Linked DNA regions of Homo sapiens: region 2 is linked to region 1. Evidence: promoter capture Hi-C in 16 types of primary human blood cells and fetal thymus (Javierre and others, 2016). All regions are on one chromosome and are shown on one strand. The core of a region is centred on a gene start or on the middle of the fragment in contact, and the rest is flanking DNA. Distances in the headings are between cores, read along the strand shown. Region 1 holds the start of STX7 (syntaxin 7). Region 2 has its middle 3.3 kb from the start of RNF146.

Region 1 (5,639 bases), core at 1,623-4,122:
AAGACAGGCGGCCAGGACAACAAGCATAAACTAGGGCTGTCCTAGCAAACTAAATATATGGTCACCCTGTGTATATGCAGGGGGCTTGGACTTGATTTTGAGAGCAGTGTTTTCCATTATGCATATTTAAAAGTTTTACAGGCAAGTTCCACCATCAAATACACTCATAAAATACTGGGTAAAAGAAATTTTTACTTGTTTCTTTCCTGAACCACTTCTCAGCGTCTTTAATTTACAAATATGCTCTGTGAATCTTCAAGAATGCAATATAATATGTTTCCCAAACATTTCTTTGTAGACCAATTCCCTGATTCCTTATTTCAACCCACACAATTCCCCAGCTCTCCCCAATCTAATTATTTTGGTTTTTTTTCTTAAGAAATACAGTTCAGGGAATGCTGCAATCATGGAAATGGCATGAAGCCTGGAGCAAAGTTCTCAGATTAGAGCTTCAAATATTCAGTGGTGGCTTTGACAATAATAAAGTTGAGAAGACCTGGAGATAGAAGATCCAACAAGGAGGCTATTGCAGTGGATCAGGATGTCAACCGTGAGGGACAGAGAGAAGAGGGCACATATGAACAACACTTAGGAGGTAAAATTAGAAACGAAAATACCAGTCATCAGGAGGTAAAATTAGAAACAAATATACCGGTCATCATGCTATAATGGCCCATGTAAGATTTCCACGGGATATCTGTTTATTACCTCCATGTTCAAAAGCTAGGGCAAAATCAATTCTGTGCTTGATATATGACTAGGCACTTGTGTGATCTTAAACAGAAAACAAGTAGACTGTAGAGAGACATGGAAGGTGCTTAACAATAAGGCACAACTGAACTAACTCTTGTTTATTAAGTATTAATTTAAGCTTCCTTTTAATCTAGCATAGATTTTTTAAACCAGTTGTGGTTTTCCCACTGTATTATAAATAAAAACAAACCTTCATAAGTCAACTTGTCCTTCTCACTTACCAATAAGTCCCTGTTTGCTCTATTTACCTTTATGCGTCTTTTACTTCTTTGGCTTTCCCAGAAGATCACATAGTGGTCATGTAAAAAATATTTTTAGTTCAGTAACTATTAAATGAACCAGCAATTATCTCCTTCTATTCCCTGGAATTGCTATCCCAGACACTGGAGATACAGCAGTGGACAGTTCTCCATCCTACATGAGAGATGTTACATAGGAGGTATTTATGGTATTTATATTAATAAGGACACCACAAGTGTGCAGATAACATTCCCCACTCAACAACTTCTGGTTTCCTTCAAAATCTCTCCAAGAAGGCCCAAATCTCGCAAATTACTATTTCTGAAAATCCAAATTACAAGCTTTCAGTCATAGGTAACTTCTGCACATGGAAATGATTTATTTTGGGAGATGTGACATTATCACTCATCAAATTAGGAGACTTTTAAAGCCCTACCACTTTCAAGACACCTGGCTGAATTTAACTTGGTAGCAGCCAGATTCACAGATGGAATACTGTGTCAGGAACTCTTAGTAATTCATTTATCTTAATACTTCTAAATTTTGCAAGTTTGTCTAGACTATAATTCTTTTTTTTCCCATTTGAATACCAAAGGATGAAATCTTATTCTAAGTTTTCAAAAGACCTGGAAGGAATCCACTCATAACATATTTTAAAACAAGGAATTGGAATGAGCCCAAGATGAGGGCTCAGACAGCTAAGTTTTGGGCCCAGCATAGTCAGTAACTATCAGGGTAACTTGAAGAGGCCACTTAATCTCAGGTTCTTCTGTAGTGCATTGTACCTTCCCTCCCCGGAGCCCAGAGTTCTATCAAAGGTAATATGAATGGGTATTTGGAAAGTGCACTAAACCTCACATGGATGTAAGATCCTTTCATGTGTTCCTTCAATGATTGAAATGTTTCTTCCTACGTTCACCAGCCACTTCCTAATTCTCAAGTACAATGCACTACTTTCAGTTCTTTATTTACTTGAACTTTGTGTAACAGGTGACATCATGGACAATTCCCTCCTTTTTTCCTTCATTCTCTAGTTTACCTTTTCCTGGTTTATTTCCTATCTTGTGGGTTACTCGTTTTCAGGGTTATTCTTTCTCTGTCCATCTCTCTTAAGCAGACAACATTCCACACTTAGTGTTGGTGAGTTCCAATCAGAATTCTATCCTGGGTTTTGTTTTTTTCCACCTAAGTGCGTCTGGACTTTTGATATCACCTATCCGGGTAATCATTTTAGAAAATAGTGTTGCCTTAATATAGGCAAAGGCTAAGCCAATCTATCTTCTAATTAATTTGGAGAGGGCTTTCTTTCATTTGTAGCAATTGATGCTTTTCATCTAACAATTACAATATATTTGCATATTTATCATTGGAACTGTCTCTGCTTGTTTTAAACCCTGTGAAAACTACGCCCTGCTTTTCAGGAATGCTTAGAATGACTTGTATGTACTAGGAAAACTTGTTTACAAGTGAGCACCCAGAGATGACTCTTCACTTATTCCTTCATTGTTCCTGCTAGGATTGTGTACTCGCCTTTGCATTTTTCGATAGAGCTGTCAACGCGATCTACTGCAGTTAAAGGTTAGCAAACAAGACAGGCAAGAGCTAATGGGGCGGGGTGAAGACCCGCGTGCAAGAAGGCTGGCTTCACCAGATAAAGAAGACAACTGTCCTCCATTCTGTCCTTTTTTGCACGCAGGCTAAGAGGCGTTCACCATCTCTACGTCAGGCTTCAAAGAACAGCTCCCTTGCAATTTTGCTGATACCCCCATTCCTTAGCTTGGAACCGGAGGGGCGGTGAGGGCCGCTGTCACTCAGCCCCGCGGGCCAATAGAAAAGGGGTGAACCCCGCCTTCTTCCTGAGTTGTGCTGCGGGCATGCGCACTGGGCGTCCCCACGCCACCGCCCATCAGCTGAGAATTGCAGCTGAGGGCTCCGGGGTAGGTGGGTGACGGCGGTCGGAGGTGTAGGAGGGAGCCGTGGAGGTCCAGGTAAGAGGACCCTGGGGAGGGGGCTCCCTGGCCGGGCGACAGGGAGGCGCGGTGCCCCTGCGGCTGCTGCGCCTTCTTGTTTGTGCGCGTGGTCAGGTGGCCGCCGCCCTGCGCTCTGCAGCAGGCACTCGGGAGGCTAGGAAGGGCGGGACTGCCCCAGCTCCCGGAGCGCCTGCGGCTCCCCACGCCCCCCGGCCGGGTGCAAGGGCGCGGCGCGTTCCGCATTCCGGGTGCGCGCGGCTGTGGTCAGGTGGGCCTACCCAGCCACGCACCCGCCGCGGTCCCCTGGGCAGAGCTCCGGAGGCGCACGGCTGGCGGAGCGCACCCCGGGGAGGGCGCCAGAGCCGGCTGGGGCCCAGCTCAGGAATCCAGACACGACCAAATGACCTCTTCCTCTTTTCAACTCACGGATTGAAAAACACACTAAACTTCCCGAATATAGAGGAACTGAAAAATGTATGGCTGTAGCAGGCGAACCGTGTATGTTTATTTATTCAGAGGATCGTAGTATTGTTTTTTTAATTTGGCTTGATGACTTTAACATACTTTGACATTCTTTGAGTATACACCTTTAATTAATTTACATAAAAACCTTTAAACGTACATAAAATATTTCTAGTATTTCCTCCACCTTGTTTTCTAGTTACTTTCTTTAAATTCAGACAAAGAAAAAAAGTTGCATTTCTGATCAAATGCTGTGTGTTTTTTCCCACAAATTTCTTACATTTGTTTGGCTCTTATCTGTATACGTTAATTTTTGTTTACCTCAGATCGTTGTATTCTGACTATAATTATATATAATATATAAAACTTGCCCAGAATCTGGAAGAAAAGAAAGTAATTATGAAATGCTGTGCTATTTAATAATGTTGGAAGTGGACATTTCTTCTGCAGGTTCTCTGAGCACACCTGGGCAGAGGCTGATAACGGTGTTAAACTGTGTTTTGTGTTGTGGACAGGCCTTATAGGCTACTTTGAGAAGTTGGCCTCAGACTCGTGACTAGTTAAGAATTATGCTCTTAACTTCACAGTTTCTGTAGAGGTTAATATGATACCATATTAACTGATTAACATCATAATTTTTCCTCAGATATGTTACTTATGTTGCTCTTGATAACAAAATCAATCCTTATTTTGGTTATGACCCCAAACTTTAAGTGCTGATGATTGAAAAGTAAATTATAGAAAATATTCACAGTAAGTCTGAGTGAAGTTTGCTGTGATTCCATTTAATTTGCAAGTTTCATGTGTGAAAGTATGAAAAAAACAATCCTCGGTATTGTGAACTAAAACCAAGTAGTACAAAAGGTCAGTGATGAAAGAGCTAAGGCCAAAGAATACAGTTAATGTAGTTTTTGCAGAGGATACTTATGTAGACAGAGCACCCTCACATTCCTTGAGCATTTACTATGCACCAGGCACTGTAGATTACACAGGATGACAAGGTCATCTCTCTCCTGTTTATATTCCAGAAGTAGCTCCTGTTTGTATTCCAGAGGTGTAGGGATAAATAATAAACAGTGATTAATTCGACTTTTGAGTATTGTGAAGCAGTAAGTTAGATTGACAAAGAGTGACCAGTGGTGAGTTCTCACTTTCATATCAGAGTGGTCACAAAGGTTTCTCTAGCATGTGATGAGGCCTTGCTGGGGAGAAGGAGCCAGTCACGTGGAGATCATGGGAAGAGCCTTCTAGAAATAGGAAATGGCACCCAGCAAAGGCCCAAGGCAGCAAGAAGCCTGGGACCTTCGGTATCTGAAAGAAGGCACTGGAATTTTATGTTTTGGAAATGGTAATATTTACCCTCACGCTGGGTGTGTGTTCTTAGGAGGTGGGTACATTCATTCATTCTACAAATGTTTGTTAAGCACTTGTGATGTAGCCAGGCAGTGAGAATAGTGCAGTCCACAAAACAGACAAAAAAATGCTCACCCCCCACCCCTCAGAACTTACTTGGGGTAGAGGGTATAGAGAAGTCCAGTTGTTTATGCTGATGCTAATGATTAAGAAAGTGAAATTGACTACTTCTTTGCCCAGGGTAGATTTATAGAGCATGAGATATATGCTAAATGGAAATCTTAAGGATTCTACAGTATATCGGATTTTAACTGGGAGTAGTGTTTGACACTTCAAGATTAAATTTTAACATTCCTTTTGTTCATTCCTTTGTGTTCTTTAGAAGCCGTCTTGAGAAGACTCTCATCTGAGTGTTGCACTTTGATTCTCCCTTCCTGTTTTTCTCTTTATAGTGTTTGTATATCTTCATAGAAAGATGATTATTGCAATGTGGAGATTAGCACTGTGCAATAGATCTTTCTGTGATAATGGAAGTGGTCTATGAATGAGCTGTCCAAGCTGCTGGCCACTAGCCACACAGAATTTTTGAACATTTGAAAGGTGTCTAGTGTGACTGAGGAACTGATTTTTTTCATTTAACTTAATTTTAATTAATTTTAATTTTTTAAAAACGAGAGCTACAATGTAATTTAAGTGATACACAATATAAAATGGTGTAAATTGTCACATGAAAAAATGAAATGTAGAGTAAAAGTGTAGTTTCTTACTGCAATCAGTTATCTTGTTAGCAGCTTAAAATAACCTGTAATAAGATTTTTTTGCTTTTATTATTTTAATCGACAGATAATGATTTACATATTT
Region 2 (5,150 bases), core at 468-2,967, 5.2 Mb after region 1:
TTATCTTTAGAAGAGTATGTATTTCAACATTCTATGACAGCGTCTTCTCATTTGCATTAGTGTTGCATTTTGGGATTTCATTAACTGTTTGATTCAGGATTGGAAGTTTTCAGTGTCCTTATAGGTATAGAAATGTATATGTTTTCTGTTATTCCTCTGAAATCAGTTTATTTCAGGGTTCTCATTCATATATATCAATATGTAACCCAATCTCTTGAAGGGTGCATCTAGTTCAGTGATGCTTGCGCGTGTATGCAATACTGTTCCATACATGTAGAAATATTGAAGTGTATATCCTTTAACTTTAAGCTTAGTTTTCTATCTTTATCTTCTTATTAGCCACTCAGTTTTGTCCCTCTATCCTACACAGCCCATGAACAGAGAATAGCTAAAATTTGATATGTACTCGAAGATTCCAGCTTGAAGAGGTAATGCTAATATTAACTAACAATGTGCCAGGTGTTGCTCTAAGTGCTTTATTCATATATACCCACTTAATTCTCATAATAAACTATGAGGTAGGCACTATTATTATTCCCATTTTACAGAGAGAGAGACACACACAGCTGAGATTTGAATCCAGGCACAGACTGTAAGATGTCAGCTAGTTCAACCCCTTCTCACTCATACCCAAGGTCTTTGTATTTCAGTAAATGGTTGCATCTTTCCTTGTTCAAACCCACCTTTAACTCCTCTCTTTTATGTCTTATATGCATTTGGCATATAACCTGTTGGCTCTTCCTTCAAAGTATATCCAACTACTTACCACCTCCGCTACAATCTGCATCATCTCTTGTTTGGATTATAGTGTTACGGTAGACCAGGAACTAGTCTTTTGACTCTATCCTTAATACAGAATCCTAAATAAATCTACTTAAAAAGAAGTGAGATCGTACCACTCCTTTGCTCAAAGTCTCCTGTGGCTTCCCAACACAAGTAAAAACCAAAGTCCTAACGATGGCTTTAAAATCCTCCCCTCATTACCTCTTTGACCCCACAGACTGTTTACCCAGCTTTGTATTCCCAGAAAGCTCTCCACAAGCTGCCAACCTCATAGTCTTTGCAGTTGTGGTTTCCTCTGCTTAGAACACTCTTCCCCATCATGCTCCCTCCATATGTGCTCAGATGTCCAACTCTTCAGTCAGTCCCTCTACTTGTCAGCATATTTTAAGTCATGATGTTTCCATTCCCAATATTTCATATTTCCTCCTTTACTTTTTAATACTTATCACAGTGTAATGGATAATTTATTTTACTTACTAATCTTCATCATATTTCTCATCACATTAGGACGCAAGACACAGGAGGCCAGGAATGTGTGTTCTGTTTTGTATCTCAACTGCCAGGAATAGTGCCTGACACACTTAAAGAGGTTCTCTGTAAATATGTGTTACATGAATGAGTAAATGAATGAATGAATGAATGAATACACACATGGCCGGGCAGTAGCTCACGCCTGTAATCCCAGGACTTTAGGAGGCCGAAGTGGGCGGATCACGAGGTCAGTAGATCAAGACCACCGTGGCTAACACAGTGAAACCCTGTCTCTACTAAAAACACAAAAAAATTAGCTGGGCATGGTGGCACGCGCCTGTAATCCCAGCTACTCGGGAGGCTGAGGCAGGAGAATCGCTTGAACCTGGGAGGCGGAAGTTGCCCGAGATCGTGTCACTGCACTCCAGCCTGCACTGCAACAGAGCAAGACTCCGTCTCAAAAAAACCCCAAAAACCACATTTGTGTATGTGAGTGTGTATATATATCCCCATTTATATATATATATGAATATATATATATCTCCATTTATATATATATATGAATATATCCCCATTTGTATATATATATGAATAAAAGTGAACTTCTCATTTTTCAGTAGTTGCATATGAAAAGCAGAATTGAATGCATGGAATACTATACACCCTACCTCCATCAGCCACTTGAAAGAAAGATAGAAGTTTATATCTTTGAATAACACAGGACAGCACCTCTCAACATTGTCAGAGTGCTGGTTTCCAGTAATTAAGAGTAACTGGTTTCCAGTAATTTTAAGTACCAAAACTTCAAATTATTTGCTTAAATAAATCAGAGCCTAACAGTTTCAATGTATTTCTGTAATAATGTTACTGTCACTGGGATTCCATTTTGCTTCATTGAATCAAAGGTAAAGAAGTTGCAGCTGACTGCTAGGAATTACCCAGTTGCCTGTTTGCTTATAGCTTATTGTCTATTTCCCACAACTTACAAAATACTTTGCTGAATACCACACATCTCCAGGCACCTACTCTTCTCCATTTATCCTTCCAACACTCAAAAATTGTCCAATGTTATTTGTTTTACTTAAGGATCAAAGCATTTTTTTTTGTTTACTTAATATCTGAAGACATCCATGAAAATGCATGAGAAAATGATGTGTTACAATAGAATGTACGTTGAAACCACTCGTGGCTAGTTTAGGGCGGCGGTGTTCCAAGTGTTATCTAGTGACCCATAGGGGTCCTTTGACTCTTGCAGAGTGTCTGAGGGAAAATTGTTCTTATAATAATACTAAGACTCTAGTTGCTTTGTTTACTTGCACTCTCAAATGTACAGTGGAGTTTTCCAGAAGCTACATGGTATGTGATGTAGCAATAGATTGATTATAGAAGCAGATATGAGAATTTGACTATATCTATTAAACCAGTCATTAAAACGATGTAAAAAAAAAAAAAAAGTAAAACTGCACTCTTCTTTCATTCAGTTAGCTTTGTTTTGGAAAATGTAGTGTTTTTTTTTTTAATAAAGTATGTTAATACAATGAGTCATTTTTAAATGAATTAGTATATATTGTAAACCATTCTCAATTTCAACTTTTAATTTGGTAAATATTGATTAGCTCATAAAAGTTTTTTGGGGTCTTCTATAAATTAGCACTGTCAAAGGGTCCTGAGACCAAATAAGAATGCTTGTCTGGGGCTATTTTGCTTACCAACTCTAAGTTAAATTTCTTCCCTTTTCACATGCCGGCAACCATCTGATAGCTGTGGACACAACTTTCTCATATGCCTGGAAACAGAACAAACCAGATTCAGGAATGTACCAGTCATTATAGCTAGCAGATGAATGGAAATCAAACCAAGAGGAAGCTTTGGAAAGCAAACTTTGTTTATTTTAATTAAAAACTTTGTTTCCAGAGCTGATACATAGGTTGGTTTCTGTCCTATCATTTGATGTTCTACTTACAGTAATCAAACAGTATATTATTTTCTAGTAGAACTCCTTTGCAAATAATAGTACACTAGCCAGTTTAGCTTGTGTTTTTCTTTTACCTACTGTGATTATCAATGCTTTCTCTTCTAATGGTTCTTAATGTTCCTGCGTTGCCCACAGACATTACAACTGAATTAGGATAATGTATGGCTAGAAAATAGCCCCAAGAGTCACTGAGTTAAACTTTATAGTTTGACTATAAAGTCAACGATGCATTTATTTCCTAACCTGGTTGTATGTATATAATATGTATTTATTAATTTTTAGATGTCTTATATTGACAGTAGTAGCTCTGATGTCTCCAAAGTCCATGCTTGTTTCATTAAATGACATAACCTTTCATTGACCATAGTATTAAAAGATAAGAATAAATGCTGTATTTTAACAGTGGAGGTTTTTTAAGCTAGCTTATTATTTTAACAAAATAGTCCCTTAAACAATGTACTCCATCACATAAAGGAAATTGCTTAAGGTCATCAAGGCAGCAACTATGTTTTGCAATGTCACATTTTCCTGTATCAGTTTAATATAATTATAACCTAAAAGTTTGAAGTATTTTCACAGAAGTTTGTCAAGCAAGATTCTCTTTGGAAAACAAAAACCACCTTAAGTATTTCAGACAGAGACTCTAATGTAGTGAAATGGTGGTGAAAGTGTTAGAAAACTGGAGGAACCAAAAAAGAAAGATGAAGATACCTTGAAATCAGTAACTGCAGAAAGTCACTGGCTCATCTAAGTTTGGAGGAGCAAAGGGTGTTCTGGGAGCTCCTGGAGGCTGCTAGAGCACTTTTTATGAACTGCTATAATAGGAAGTCAGGGTCCCATATGCACACTGAGCCTGCAGAAGTCCAGGAACTCACAGCCATAAGCAGTCACCTACCACTCCAATGTCAGAACCAGAAACGAATAGGAAAGAAATCACCTTCTCCTTTCCACTTACTTTTTCCATGTGATTGCCTTCAATTGACAAAACTAAACAAGAAACCATCTGTCAAAGGATTCTCAAAAACAACTTTTTCCAGCTCCATTAGATATAAAGCAGAACATAGAAATGCCATTGTGAGACTGGGCATCAAATATGTGGTTCAAAAAGTTTGAAAAATGATTTATTATATTGCTCAAGGTGATATATATTCTGAAATATGGAAAGAACTAGAATAATTGATTGCCTATTATTTTCTAAGCTCTTAACAAACCATTTTTTTCACCATAATGATCCAGGTCCACGAATATCTTTTCATCATTGTTCTATGAGACAACTGCAACTCATTGAGGTTACCAGTGTTCACAGGTAGCCCAGAGTAGAACCACGGTGAAGAGAGAGAGACCAGCTGAGGGGAATATGGACATGCATCAGTAAAGGTTCAGTAAAGACACGATGAGTCCTAGGATCAGGAGCGCCATAAACTAATTCGGGCATGCTACTTACTGTATCCAAATGTCAATTTTTTTATATGTAGCCATAAAACGGGTAAATTATCACCTCTATTCAGAGATTTGATAATGAAATTTAAGATAAAGTACTTGGCCAAGGTTGAAAAACCTTAGCTATTACAATTACATTATTTGACCTGTCTCAAATTCTGAGCTAGTTCCGCCAGAGCCTCTCATTCAGTCTACTAGAAAGCATAAGAATAAATACCTATAATTTCATAACTTCTATTGTCTTTTGGCAAAAACTGATAAATTATTTTCTTTTTCTGTTTTATAGAGTCTATATATATATATTTTTATACTTTAAGTTCTAGGGTGCATGTGCACAACGTGCAGGTTTGTTATATAGGTATACATGTGCCATGTTGGTTTGTTGCACCCATTAACTCGTCATTTACATTAGGTATTTCTCCTAATGCTATCCCTCCCCCAACCACCACCCTACAACAGGGCCCAGTGTGTGATGTTCCCT

The links. The method cuts DNA at HindIII sites, captures the fragments that hold promoters and counts their contacts. A CHiCAGO score of 5 or more calls a contact.
Region 2: a contact is called between a fragment that was not itself captured here and the fragment with the promoter of STX7 in region 1, in 1 of 17 cell types (non-activated CD4 T cells). The highest score is 6.2, in non-activated CD4 T cells.

What each region holds. Positions count from the first base shown.
Region 1 is chr6:132,510,349-132,515,987 of GRCh38, reverse strand. STX7 (syntaxin 7) reads left to right here and starts at 2,872. Exons shown (of 10, transcript NM_003569.3): 1 at 2,872-2,981. RefSeq lists enhancers at 2,566-2,765, 3,123-3,624 and a silencer at 2,916-3,405. The HindIII fragment of the contact is 4,830 bases long and covers 1,337-5,639 here.
Region 2 is chr6:127,260,953-127,266,102 of GRCh38, reverse strand. No RefSeq gene overlaps it. Among named protein-coding and RNA genes, the nearest start is that of RNF146, 3.3 kb to the left of the region's middle. The HindIII fragment of the contact is 2,811 bases long and covers 312-3,122 here.